5 separate regions of the Homo sapiens genome follow, and all the other regions are linked to region 3. The links are contacts of gene promoters, found by promoter capture Hi-C in blood cells and fetal thymus (Javierre and others, 2016). All regions are on one chromosome and are shown on one strand. Each heading gives the region's core, a stretch centred on a gene start or on the middle of the fragment in contact. The rest is flanking DNA. Distances are from core to core; before and after follow the strand shown.

Region 1 (2,700 bases), core at 121-2,620, 440 kb before region 3:
TTTTTGCATTTGTTCATCTGTGGGTGACACAAATAGTTGAAAGGTTTAAATTTGCCTGTGTGCATCATCAGTAGGGGAAGTCCATTTGGGGGGTGCACGCTACTCAGCACTGAAATATTTATTCATCCTTCACTCAGCAAGCACCCATGCCTTCTGTGGGCCTGGCATGGGACTAGGCACCAGGAATTCAAAAGTAACTTTCACACAGTTCTAAAGTGGGGTGGGAGAGGGATGAGAGATGACTTTAGAGAGGGGAAGAGGCCTCCAAGACCACAGCAGGAAGAACAGGTTTTAGGTGAAGGGGTGACAAGGAGGAAGGGGTACTAATGAGGTCAGTCCGGGACATAGAGTTTTAGCTGCTTATGAAAACATGTCAGGGGAGAAGTCCTGTGGGAAGCTGGGAATCTGAATCTCCTCATTCATCTTACTTACTTGCACGGTTTATTCTATCTTACATATCTTATACATTTATATATCTATCATATCTACATATCTATCTTATATCTCTTATCTTAGATATTTATTTTATATCTATACATCTATCTTATACACCTTATATATCTATCTTATATACAGACAATGATGTAAATTTCTATACTTTCCAACTCACCTTGCTTATCTTCATTTTGCTCTAGAACCCTTTAAAGCTTAGGTTCTCTAATTTAGGTGAGTTAGACATGAAATGTGTCATATTACTCAGTCCTACAGCTCTTACCTGAGACGCAGTGGTTAAGGGCACAGCTCTGGATCCACACAGAATACGGGCTTTGTAACTCTACCCTGGATCTGTATAGGCAAGTTACCTAACTTAGCCAAACCTCAGCTGACTCATCTGTAAAACGTGACTAAGAGATTATCTAACCTCTGGCTGATCCAAGTATTAAATACAATAATAAATATAGGGCCTAGAACCTGGAATTTCTGTTGGCCACAGCAGCACTAATTCCTGCTACTAAAGTTACTCTCCCATTGACTTCCGCTCAGTTCAGCCTTCCCAGACTCTCACTATCTGTACACAGGTGCGAGAAGACAGATGCATATAGCTATAATTCTTAAACAGTTTACTAGCCCTATCTTTTAAGCATGTGTCTTTTTAATTGAAAGGAATATCCTTCTACTTAGTTCTTTATTCTTTCTTATCAAAGATTTTCTCAGGTAGGAACAACTTGTTGGATGTGCCTATCCTAAACTAAGCTATTTAACCAGAAGTCCATTGCAGCTATCACTAGATTTAGATACTGCCTTTTTAAAAAGATGGCTATTGTATAGCCTTTACAGCAGAATAGAACAATTTGAACAGAAAATTAAATGGGGGTGTTTCATCACAAAGTTGGACACCAGGACTTGAACTAAATTATGGCAAAAACCTGGAATGACTTGCACTCATTTCTTGAGCCCAGAATCAAACCCAGATAGGCATTTTTTTTGCTTAGAATATTTTTCTCCTTTTATTTTTTATTAACAAAACATTTAGTGAATCACTTTGAACCAAGTCCCAAACCTATATATTTTCTAAAACTACTGACCCAGGATTGAACTGAAATTTCATCCAGTTAAAGTCCCCAGTGGAACTTGGGTATTTTACTGGCAAAGCCATTGATCTACCATTTAGCTTTATTGCTTTCAACAGAATTGGGGTGGGAGGAAAAGGCTCAGCTCAGAAAAAAAAAGAAAAAAGAAAAAACAAAGTGCTTCAGTAGGTTCTTAAACCTTCCCTAAATCAATCATTTTCTTTTTATGTGCCAAATTGCGGAAGGTAGATGATGCTCATTCCAAATGCACACAAAATAATTATTCAAACTTGATCTGGGTATTTTTCAGAGATTAATTTTCCAAGGTTGTCATACCTAATGGAAAGCTCTCAAATGAATGGCCATCCAAACCACCTGGTTCTTTGCCCATTGCTGTTTCCTTCACCTAAACTGTGCCTTGCCATCTCAGCCCCTCTTCTTCATCACACACTCTTGCACATCCTTCAACATTCAGCACAAAAGTCACTTTCCTCAATAAGCCTTCTCCAATTCCTGATACAGCTTTTTGCCCTTTCCCCTGTGCCCTCATAGCTCTCCTCTCATACCTCCACTGAAAGCTTTTATGTTACGCGTCTGTCTCCTTCACTAGACTGAATTTTAGAGGGCTAAGACCCTATCTTTTACATTTCCCCATGTCCATTGCTTAGCACAGTAACTGGCACGTGTGCTCAGGGTTTGTTAAATGAATTCATGCATGAACGAGTAAATGCATGGGATTGATGCTCACTGCTGGGTAACAAAACATCTGAAAGATACATTGCTATGAGAGTCATCTTTAAGGAAATATCAACACCTCTCCCCACAATTAACCTGTCTCTCTTACCCACCTGTCCCCATCTTGCCTCACCTTTCAGTCAGGGCAAGCAAAATTGTCACTCATATACAATGAGATTTGAGAATTGCAAATAGTCGCTGCAATTTTTAGAGAAAATTAGCAGTCTCAAATTTTCCAAAAAGCCTACATTTGGAGGAGGCCTTTGTTCTTTGCCCAATTAACAAAAACAATATTTTTTAGAGTTCCTAAACAAACAAGGAAATCCACAGACCCTTCTGCCTCTTACCTTGTCTGGATCCTGGCTGCTTAAGGAAAAGTCATGACACAGAGCTATCTGACACAAAGACTCATGGGAAAAAACACCTCTGAGATGAAGTGACCCTCAACTTCTTA
Region 2 (2,700 bases), core at 93-2,592, 390 kb before region 3:
CTATCACAACTCAATGATGAAAAGACAAACAACCCAATTTAGACTTCCCACTTCAAAATGGTGGCATAGAAACAAGCTGGTTTTACTTCCTACCCTCAAAACCAAAAACAAATATACGGCATTGAGATTATCACCAGCAACATCCCAGAACTCAAATATGAGGATAAGACAGTTCCCAGGGCAGCAGAGAAGTGAAAAAAACTCTGAGCAGATGTTAGAGGATCAAACTTCCATATTTGTGATGCCCTTTCCCCCAATCTGCCCAGCACTAAGTGCATAGAAAAATTTCCCCCAACTCATAGTTTCCACACTGGAAAAAGTATGATTGAGGTAAACAACAGCTTCCCATCATCTTAGGTTACCTGACAGGAGACCTGTCTCTGCCTCAACTCATGGGAAGCATTGAGAGTACCTGAAGAGAGGAATATTTCTGTAGACAGCCACAGACAAGTAGGGGAAGTGGGACTGCCATCCTCAGCCCTGGAAACTCTGCTGTGTAAATCAGTCAAGAGATGCCAAAACAGATTAGCTGTTCAGCAGCACCATGCTGTAAGAGGTTCATTCCACAGATCTCCAGGCATGAACCCCTGACCAGTCTTCCCATACTAACAGGATATCCTATTTGGGACCTTCCCCATTTCGGACTGGTGGCACCCTGATTGAGTACCAGAACTGAGGAGGCAAACCTGAGCTTAATTAAGGCGCCATCTAGTGCAAAAAAAGAGGCAGTGACCTAGTGGGAAAAAAGATAACAGGTAAATTGCAAAGAATCTCTAATCAAACATATTTAATAAAAACCAAAACAAGCCAGACAGAGAAGACTGGTATAAGTAGCTAATCCTTCACTGCAAAGACATAGATGTACATACACAAGAAACAACAGCAAACACAAAACCAAGACCTCCTCAAACAGACAAAGCAAGCAACCAGTGATTCACACCCTAATTAGATGATGATATTTAACCTCTCTGACCAAGAATTCAAAACAGTAGTTTTAAGGAAACTCAGTGATCTCCAAGATAACACAGAAAAGCAATTCAGAAATTTATCAGAAAAATTTAACAGAGATTGATTTTTTTAAAAAATCATACAGGAATCACTGAAAAATACTTTTGCTGAAATGAAAAATTTATTAGCGGCTTCCAATAGCCAAATGGATCAAGCAGAGGAAAGAATCAGTGAGCTCAAAGACAGGCTATTTGAAAATACACAAAGGGAAAAAGAAAAAAAGGTAAAAGGAACAAACATCACCTACAAGATATAGAAAATTACCACCTGGTGAGGCGTTCAAATGGTTGATTAGAGGCATCTCTTACTTGCCTCCTCCACTAGGAAAAACCAAAATAGTGAGTAGATAATCACACTTTGAATAGATCATCAGAGAGAATACTGAAATTCAACACAGAAGTGGCAGGAAACACCCAGAGCAAGAAAGGAGAAGGAAGCAAGTTGGCCTCCTAACCAAGATCGGCTGGGAGCCAGGAGAGACTCTCCTGTGTGGGGAAAGGATAAGCGAGAGACTCCCAGTGGCTCCTGCTTCAGGTTCCTAAAATCCTAGCCGTGGTAGAGTCCCCCAATCCTTGCTGGCCGAAGACTAACATAGAAAGTTCCCTGGAAACTGTGTGAAGGCATTGTTTCAGAGGGAAAACTCATGCTGGGTCCCACAAACCCCCAAGTTCTAAGTAGTGTCAGCATAGCACCATTTTGAAAGCCCAACCCACACCAGACTACATGCTGCCCTGCAACTAGGGCTGAGGCAGAAGCCACAGAAAACAATTCTAACCTCCCCCGAAGAGGGGTGGCTGCACATTCTCATGTGCAAAGGACAGATTCCACTGCCTGCAACTGCTGCAGCTGCAGACACTGTGGGCCAAGGTACAAGTGAAGCCCATGCCCCTCAACTCTCTGCCTATGGCTGCTCCCATGGAAGGCAACCTCAACCTGTTCAATATCAGGGCTGCAGCACAGCCATGCCACCTCCACCTGATCATTCCACTGGTGGCATAGGGCTCACCCTGCCCATGCATACAAAAGCCAGCATTTATATGCAACACGGGGGGGCAGGGTTGAAGCACAATTTGGCCAGGCTACCTCCACCCCAGTACACAAGCACATCAGGGACTGCAGGTCACACAGCCCAGTTCACCATAGTGGCACCTGAGTAATCCTCCTGGAGTCTGAAGTCAGGCACACTCAACCTCTGCTATCACCACAACTGGCACCCACTTGCACATTGCCACTCACAGTTCTGGGCACCAGCCCTCTCAACCCATCACAGCTCCTGCCAATACCAGAGTGGAACACTTATATCCCAAAGTGTTGTCTCACCACTGGTACCGACATTGCCCCTGCTATGCTCACTGCCCAGGGGCTAGAGAACCTGTTCACCTGCCTGGCCCACTGCTGCCACTTCCAGCACCCAATTAAGCCACCTGGAGGCCCCAGAATTAGCTTACCTGGACACACTAACAGTGGTGCCAGCATATGCTGCCCTGAAGCCCAGGAACAGGAGCACTCAGTGCACCGTTACCACCACGAGGGCCCAAAGACTAGCTTACCTGTCATCCCAGTCCCCAGCAGAACTTCACTGTAACCTCCACTAATAACCACACCCTAAGCCACAAAGGAAATGACAGACACCACTGACACTGTTTACAGACAAAGAAATCATACAGAGACTACACTACTTCATGCACCCAG
Region 3 (2,700 bases), core at 40-2,539:
ACTTAGGTGGAAGGGGCACTGAAATAATCAGGTAACCAAGTCATCTCTAAAACAGTCCCATGGTGCCGGTAGAGGGTGTAAGTCGGAGTCGAGGAAGCAAGTTTTACTGGCAAGGCAATGGAAAAAACGCAAGTTGCAATGCACTGTCCAATCCTAGTCTTCCACTACATTGCCTGTCCTCAATTATCTTTAACATTCAGGTATAAAATTGTTTCCTAAATTCCCTACACAGAGCTTAAAGAAGGAGCCAAGTCCAGGATGGACTCGGTTACTGAAAAATACGCTTTTGCATTATCTGTACCACTAGCTGCACTGGGGAAGGTCAAACATTCCAGAATTGAGATTTCCAAGATTTTTTGGATGGCTCAAGCTGAGATGCTGGCTATCAAGGATGCAGAGTCAACGCATCACTTTAACAAATCAACTAGATTTATGGCTCCAATTACTCAGGTAGATGATTCATAAGATGAGAAAAGCCAACGCTTGCTGATCTAAGGGAAGTCGTAATAATTTTGGCGCCTGCAGTATATAATGTCAGTTTCCCTCAACACCAAGCCGAACGGACCAACACCATTTCGAATCAAAAAGCTGCTTATTGGACTCTAGGAAAAGAAAGACCAGGAGAGCTCAGTACGCAGGTAGGCTCTCTAAATGCAAGCTAGTCTAAGAGCTGAAGCAACCCAGTCCAGCCTGGGTGGCTCAACAGCAAAGCCAAGCCACGTGTCCCTACCGCCCTGGCTAAGCGTCGGTCCCCTCTCGTCGCTCTATGCAGCCACTATCTATTGGGTCCCCCAGCCCTTGCCCTCAAACGCAGAAGCTTCGCCTCACACTCCATCTTTTGACTCCACCCCACCGCACGGTAAGAATGAACGTGACCCTCCCGCGAGAGGTAAAATAACGGAAACAGCCCGTGGGGTAGGCTAGTCACAGAGCTGCACCCTCTCCCCCCAACCCCCAGTCTGTTTGAGCTCAAGCGGCGACCCCATCCCTCCTATACTCTGCCGCCTGGGCAGGTGAGGTCTAGTCAGGGTCCCAACTTGGTCCTTACCAGGTCTCCTGGTTGCTGAATTTCTTAGTCACCACCTTGCCTAGCTCCAGGCCCAGGCGGTCAGCAATTTTCTGAGATAAGTCCTGGTGGGAGCTGCCGCTGAAGATTTTGATATTCGGCATCCTGGCCAACTACCCTAAGCACTCCACTAAGCGATCACGGCTGCTGCAGAGACCGGAACCGAAGTCGGCCACAGACTCAATACCAAGCGCTTTGCGTTGCTACTCCGCCATCTTACATTCCCGCCCGGCGCGCGGCTCTAAATTACCCAAAGCGGCGGAGGTGGGGTCAGCGGCGAAGTCCACACCCCGCTGGCAACGATTAGCTAAGAGGGAGCGAAGGGCGGGGTTTGGTCCTCGGTGTAGCTCTGCCTCCTTCCGATTCTCTCAGGTATTGGGTGAAGAGCATGAACGGGGGCGAGACTAACCCATAGCCCGGCCCCCTGTAGCTAGGCTGTTGGGGACAGGAGACGTTGGACTGGGGGTGGAGGGATGCTGGTGACGTCTGAGGCCAGATCGTTCCCGCTAGCGGGAAATCAACCATGCCTGCTTTTTTATTTCCCCTCCCTCAGCGCAGGAAAGTAAGTCTGGCTCTGGTTTACAGTTTCCTTTAAGAAAATCTGTTTATCAGGATGACAGCCACGAGTTTGCATGTTTCTGAACACATTTTTTATCTCTTTATAAGGATGGGGCTGAATTAAAACACTTTTACATCACAGACGTGCATGCAAGGAGTTTGCTTGCCCATTGTAATTGCAGTGTCGCCTTTGCCTGCAAGACAGTTTACATGGGGGAAGTGACTGAAGGCATGCCACCTGAATCATCCAAGAGACACTGCAAGAGAAAGTTGTTTTGTTTCTAGTGCTGGAACCAAGTATGTTGAAACAAGTGAAGGAAGATGGATTTTCCAAACTATCTGGACAATAAAGATCTAACTTTTATAGCCCTCGGAAAGGAAAGAAAGTATAGTGTTCTATGGGACTTCAGATAAAGAGCCCTGAAGGGATTTGAAAAAACCTGGGTTTTAGTCCTGTCTGCCTCATGTAAGCCTCAATGTCATCAGCTACATGTTGCTAATGTGGCCTTTTACACCATGTTTTATTATTTTTATAGCGATACTTGTTAATTGGACCTAAGTGAGCCTTTATTCTTGCACCATGTTTCCATTAAGCATATTTTAAGCATGGGTTAGGAGAAGATAAAAATCATACAATTCTGGAATCAAAAGTGACCATAGTGCTCATAACTACCAAATGTAAAAATAGAAGGGACCTCAGAGATCATATAGTCGTTTTACATATGATAAAACTGAGATGGAGGTGGGAGAGGGATTTATCTAAGTGGCAAAGGCAGAAAATACTCAAAGCAGCATCCTGTCTTTGTCTTACTGCTATTTTCAGCAGTGTCCATGGAGGACTTCTCCTTCTGACCTTTTTTGCACTTTTACAAGCTCAGAAATTTAATGTAGGCCCATGTATATAGGAATACTTGGAGAAGGAAGTAAACTGCAAGGCAGAATATTAGTAGTCTTCCATCATAGGCCATTCATCAAATATTTACTGAGTGTTCTATTGCATGCAAGGCAGTGTGCAAGGCGTTGAGGGGACTACAAAGTATTTGCCCCAAGGGATTCGTTCATTCAATAAATATTTA
Region 4 (2,700 bases), core at 169-2,668, 350 kb before region 3:
AAGTACTGTATTCCTATTACCCAAAGATAACCACTGTTAAAGTGTTAGTATATAACTTTCCAGATTTGTGATGTATGCATACATATAGTTAGTTATATGCTCTTTGTAACAAGCGAAATTAGAGAAAAATGTATTTTAAAGTTAAAAACTTTTTTTCTAACCTCCAGTCCAACCCCACTTCCCAGAGATAATTAATGTTGAGTCTGCTATATATCCTCTCTCATTCTGTTCTCCAAGATTATAGAAACATACAAACATATGCAAACACACACATACACACAAATACGGGATCATAGAAAACATTACTCCTACAACTTTACATGCCCTTTTGTCATTGGCCATCATCATAGATCCATAGGTAGAAACAGATTCAGTTACAGTACAATGTCATGTAATACGTAGCAACGCTGGACTCAACCTGAGATTTGTCTGATTTATCTTGTGGGTCTCAGAAAGTCATTCAAGGTTTTCTTGTTTTTGTGTTTGTTTGTTTGAGACAGAGTCTCACTCTGTCACCCAGGCTACAGTGCAGTGGTGCGATCTCGGCTCACTGCAACCTCCGCCTCGTGGGTTCAAGCGATTCTCCTGCCTCAGCCTCCCGAGTAGCTGGGACTACATGCGCGTGCCACCACATCTGGCTAATTTTTTGTAATTTTAGTAGAGACGGGGTTTCACCCTGTTAGCCAGGATGGTCTCGATCTTCTGACCTCGTGATCCGCCCATCTCGGTCTCCCAAAGTACTGGGATTACAGGCATGAGCCACCGCGCCCGGCCGAAGGTTTTAAGAGACATATTCATATCCCTCTGATGGAAGATCTCTGATATTTCATGTTTTGGTAAAAAGGTGTATTTATGCTACTCCTAACTCTCTTTCTCCCACAGTTGCTTCAAGATTCAAGGCGTTTCAGTAGGGGAGGAGTGGGAGAAGGGGTGATGGGAGGAGTGTGGGGAAAGAGGAGCTAAGGGAGGAAAGGCAGGCCAGGATTTGTTAGGGTGTCTGGGATGTTTAGTCCTGAGCAAACAGGGGATAAGCTCCGCTCCTGGCTCCACCCTCTTCCTCCAAGGGCAACTGAGGGGTTGGGGCTGTTTCCTGCTCTAGAATATTCCAGTTGGGGGCGAAACTCCCCTGGCATGGCACAAACCATTATGATGGGGAGGGATAAGTCTTCAACTTGTTCACAAATACTTTTTTTGGTCCTAAGTCCTTCCGGACCACTCCTGTTTCTTTCAGCCTTCAAGGTCTCCCGACCATGTGGCAGGTTCCCTTTTGTCCCAGTGGAATGGCAGAGGCCTTCCTCACTCACTCCCTTTCACCCCTACAGTCTCTGGAAATTGGAACAGTCCCAGAGTAAAATCCTCATGGGTTGGCCCTGAGGCTTCTTTTCCCGCAGAGCCCTAGGAGGGAAAGAGGCCACCCTCTCTTCAGGCGTGTTAAGCAGCGGGGTTGGCCTGTACTTCCTCTGGCCCTGGCTGAAGAGGTGAGGCCTGGTGGGAGATGTCCTAGGGTAGGACAAGCCGGTCAGAGGGTCATTAGGAGGGTCTTGTCAGAGGTGGGAGGGCGGAGAAGACAGATGAGGGGAGGGGCTAAGGAGGAGGAAAGAAACCTATTGGCTGCTCCATCCACACAGGGCTAGTGAAACCGTTAAGCCCCTAGGCGATCATGGCCTTGAGACCTGAGGACCCCAGTAGTGGGTTCCGGCACGGAAACGTGGTGGCCTTCATCATCGAGAAAATGGCCAGGCACACGAAAGGCCCCGAGTTCTACTTCGAGAATATATCCTTATCCTGGGAGGAGGTGGAAGACAAGCTCAGGGCCATCCTGGAGGACAGCGAGGTGCCCAGCGAGGTCAAAGAGGCCTGCACCTGGGGCAGCCTGGCCTTGGGTGTGCGCTTTGCCCACAGGCAGGGGCAGTTACAAAACCGCAGGGTGCAGTGGCTGCAAGGCTTTGCCAAACTGCACAGATCAGCTGCGCTGGTCTTGGCCTCAAACCTGACGGAACTCAAGGAACAGCAGGAGATGGAATGCAATGAGGCGACCTTCCAGTTGCAGCTAACCGAGACCAGCCTTGCGGAGGTGCAGAGAGAGCGGGACATGCTGAGATGGAAGCTCTTCCATGCCGTAAGATCCCCCGAATGGTCCCTGTCCAATGCCTCTGCCCTGCCCCAACCTGTCCGGACCCCCTGCCCTGTCCCCAGAATGTGTTTCAGCTCTGCCTACTTCTCTCCAGGAGCTGGCACCTCCCCAGGGACAGGGCCAGGCTACAGTGTTTCCAGGCCTGGCCACTGCCGGAGGGGATTGGACAGAAGGAGCAGGTGAGCAGGAAAAGGAGGCGGTGGCTGCTGCTGGTGCTGCTGGAGGAAAAGGAGAGGAGAGGTATGCAGAGGCAGGGCCTGCCCCCGCAGAGGTCTTGCAGGGGCTGGGAGGAGGCTTCAGGCAGCCCCTCGGAGCTATTGTAGCAGGCAAATTACACCTTTGCGGGGCAGAGGGAGAAAGATCTCAGGTCAGTACAAACAGCCATGTCTGTCTTCTCTGGGCTTGGGTCCACAGTCTCACTGGAGCCTCTTCCTGTCCAGCTCCCTACCTCATTCACATACTCATACCCATGCCCTTTGTCCGCCTTCTCAGCCATACCCAATATACCCCCTTCACCAGCAAAGGTCACAGAACGGGTTCCAACTCAGATGCCTTTCAACTGGGGG
Region 5 (2,700 bases), core at 201-2,700, 460 kb before region 3:
TGAAATTTTTGAAAAATTAAATAAAAATAAAAATAAAAAAGTATATGTTTATGAATTGATATCAGTATTTGGCAGTACCTATCTATGTAAAATGACATTTTCAAAGATTAAATAGGTAAAAATTTCCTAACAGATCAGCATTAACAGATGAACACTTAAAATCAATTTTGACAATAGGGAACACTAATTCTGAGCCCCAATTAAGCAAAATATTATCCCCTAAAAAGAATTCTATTCTTCTCATTGGTAGTCTTCCTGTATTACAAAAAAAGTACTCAATTACTATTATATTTTGAATTTCATCAATAAAAATTTGTTGAAATTTGTTTTCTCTTTTGTCATAAAAGTACCAACAAAATATTCTTGATTTTGCCTTTTGGCCTACAAAGCCTAAAATATTTACTATCTGGCTCTTTACAGAAAGTTTCCCAACTCCTGTTCTACACTATAACAGGATAAACATAAACATCATGAGTCTCTTTCTTGAATGTATTCTTATCGTTACCTAGTTGTGGCATAATGTCCTCTGGATATGCCCTATAAAGGATCAGTCTTGCATTGCTTCTGCTATGGCACTATTTGGGATTTCTATAAAAAGAAACACTATTAGCTTAATAGTTGTAGCAAAGCCTTGACAACATAGTTAATATCGTGATATTAAAATGCCAACACCACAGCCCGGTATCCTTAAGATGACCCTCATCAAGCTGTGATGTCACCAGGCTATGGACTCACCGAGGTCTCTTAGATATCAGGTGGCTCCCACGGCATCACACCCTGCCTTTGGCATCACCCTGGCACATCACCTCAGTACGGTGCCATATGCTATCACTGCTGTGGTAGAACCCTGTCCTGATGCCACACCGCCGAGATGTCAGAGTAATTAACCCCCACTTCTTTCCACTCCCTAGGCGGTGGCAGGGAGGGGGAGGGTAGCCACAGTCACCGGTTCGAGCTCAGTAGGTAGTACTCAGCTCCAACCCTTGTCCCTTCCGCCTGCCACTGCAGGTCAGGAACCCCGGGGGACAGGACCTTTAGGCTCTCATAACTCTTGCCCTGCCCCCGAACCTGTTTCATATGGCCGACTCAACGACCCGCCAGCGACTACCCACCCCGGCTCTTTCACACGGTTCCACTCAAAGCCGCTCCCCGTACCTGACTCCATTCTCCAGCTGTCATCCTGGGCCAATTCCACCGGCAACTTGACTACGGACGGACGGTCGCTAGGATCCCTGGGACTTGTAGTTCTGCACTGCTAGGGGCCAAGTCTGTGAGGGCAGCAAAGGCGCCTCCCTGCCCGGAACTGCTCTCAAACTGCAACTCCCAGAGGCGCCGCGCGACGGGAAAAGAAAAGGGAACGAGGAAGGCCGGTGATTGGTGAAGCTCTAACGGCTGTTTTGACTGGCGTAGCCGGAGCCGGCGACGTGAGGCGGGCGTTGCTCGCGCGACAAGTAGTTGCTGGGACAGCGAAATGGAGGGGTGTGTGTCTAACCTAATGGTCTGCAACCTGGCCTACAGCGGGAAGCTGGAAGAGTTGAAGGAGAGTATTCTGGCCGATAAATCCCTGGCTACTAGAACTGACCAGGTAAAGCAACGCTAGGTCTCTCCGCAGTCGGCGACGTCGGCGAAGCCCTACGTGGCTTTCGGGGCCCGGCCCTAGCGGAGGCCCCGTTTCTGAGAGAAGCAGAACCCCGCCCCCGCCGCCCCAAGCAGTCCCCCTGGGTCACCTCGGGACTCGCGATAGGCCTGCGGGAGCTAGCCCCACAGACCTCAGATATTTTCCCGTTGGCCCGGAGCTCCGCTCCCTGATTTTTGGATAGTTCTAGAACGTCTACCGCATTTCTCAGAAACTCCCAATCAGTGAAAAGGAAGGCTTTTTATATGGATTTATTTACCTTTACTAGTAACTGTATTCAGTAACGCATGTGAAATTGAACGCCCCTTCCGTGCCAGGCAGTTTGCTAGGAGCTGGGGATACGGTGGAGTGGAAGATGCAGACAATAAAATAAGCACAAAAACATGTCCGATTACAAATTGTGGTAAATACTCGGCAGAGAAGTTTACATGGTGCTTTCAGAACACGTTAATAGGAGGATCTGATGCTGAATATGACTGTCGTTAATTGGAAAAGTTTTTGCAAAGAAGGGAAGGTTAGTTAGACTTTGAAGCATGAGTGGGATTTCCATGGGGGAATGAGTGGACATTCTAAGCAGAGGTAGACAGAAGTTTAGAAGTGTTTCTTTCTGCCCTCCTGCTCACAGGACTCTCGTGCTTTCATCCTCAGTTTCTAGGATTCATGGTGCCTTTAGTAAGCCCACAAATATTTATAGATGGCCTTGTGTTTCGCAGACAGTGTCGTAAGCACTAGTGAGACTGTCCCATACTTACAGATCTCCATTTTGTGTCTTTTGGGAGAGAATTAGAAATCAAGAGACTGTTTTCTCTTTTCTGGAACTTTCCTTTATTACTCAACCTGAAAATGGCCTTATCTTTACCTGGTTTACTTCATTATGGTCTGGTGATATTTAAGGATTTAAATTTAAATGTAATACTTTATATTAAGATTTAATACTCCATTGGAAATTTAACCATTCTTCAGTCAAGTCAGTGGCTTAAAAAGGGAAAGGAACTATTCAGCATCAAGAGACGTAAAAAACATGAAGAAATGCAATTTATGGATCTCGTCTGGTTCCTGATTTA

What was found. Contacts are between HindIII fragments. The CHiCAGO score rates a contact against its expected background, and 5 or more counts as called.
Region 1: a fragment that was not itself captured here is called in contact with the fragment with the promoter of PRPS1 in region 3 in 1 of 17 cell types (non-activated CD4 T cells); the score reaches 5.3 in non-activated CD4 T cells.
Region 2: a contact is called between a fragment that was not itself captured here and the fragment with the promoter of PRPS1 in region 3, in 1 of 17 cell types (naive CD8 T cells). The highest score is 6.1, in naive CD8 T cells.
Region 4: the fragment with the promoter of TEX13B here is called in contact with the fragment with the promoter of PRPS1 in region 3 in 4 of 17 cell types (total CD4 T cells, endothelial precursors, naive CD8 T cells and 1 more); the score reaches 7.2 in total CD4 T cells.
Region 5: a contact is called between the fragment with the promoter of PSMD10 here and the fragment with the promoter of PRPS1 in region 3, in 1 of 17 cell types (total B cells). The highest score is 5.3, in total B cells.

What each region holds. Positions count from the first base shown.
Region 1 is chrX:108,069,198-108,071,897 of GRCh38, reverse strand. The region is part of intron 3 of VSIG1 (V-set and immunoglobulin domain containing 1); the gene reads right to left. Among named protein-coding and RNA genes, the nearest start is that of PSMD10, 21 kb to the left of the region's middle. The HindIII fragment of the contact is 1,442 bases long and covers 650-2,091 here.
Region 2 is chrX:108,018,735-108,021,434 of GRCh38, reverse strand. It overlaps a transcript of VSIG1 not described here. Among named protein-coding and RNA genes, the nearest start is that of VSIG1, 25 kb to the left of the region's middle. The HindIII fragment of the contact is 5,748 bases long and covers 1-2,700 here.
Region 3 is chrX:107,627,099-107,629,798 of GRCh38, reverse strand. PRPS1 (phosphoribosyl pyrophosphate synthetase 1) reads right to left here and starts at 1,289. Exons shown (of 7, transcript NM_002764.4): 1 at 1,049-1,289. The coding sequence starts at 1,170. RefSeq lists a silencer at 1,402-1,451. The HindIII fragment of the contact is 4,384 bases long and covers 820-2,700 here.
Region 4 is chrX:107,981,088-107,983,787 of GRCh38, reverse strand. TEX13B (testis expressed 13B) reads left to right here and starts at 1,418. Exons shown (of 3, transcript NM_031273.2): 1 at 1,418-1,478; 2 at 1,629-2,119; 3 at 2,229-2,700. The coding sequence starts at 1,661. It also overlaps the pseudogene LOC112267910 and the pseudogene NLRP3P1. The HindIII fragment of the contact is 6,409 bases long and covers 1-2,700 here.
Region 5 is chrX:108,090,292-108,092,991 of GRCh38, reverse strand. It overlaps PSMD10 (proteasome 26S subunit, non-ATPase 10), which reads left to right and starts at 1,450. Exons shown (of 5, transcript NM_002814.4): 1 at 1,450-1,585. The coding sequence starts at 1,472. ATG4A (autophagy related 4A cysteine peptidase) reads right to left here and starts at 1,214. Exons shown (of 13, transcript NM_052936.5): 1 at 1,156-1,214. The coding sequence starts at 1,165. RefSeq lists enhancers at 1,012-1,251, 1,302-1,701. The HindIII fragment of the contact is 5,520 bases long and covers 1-2,700 here.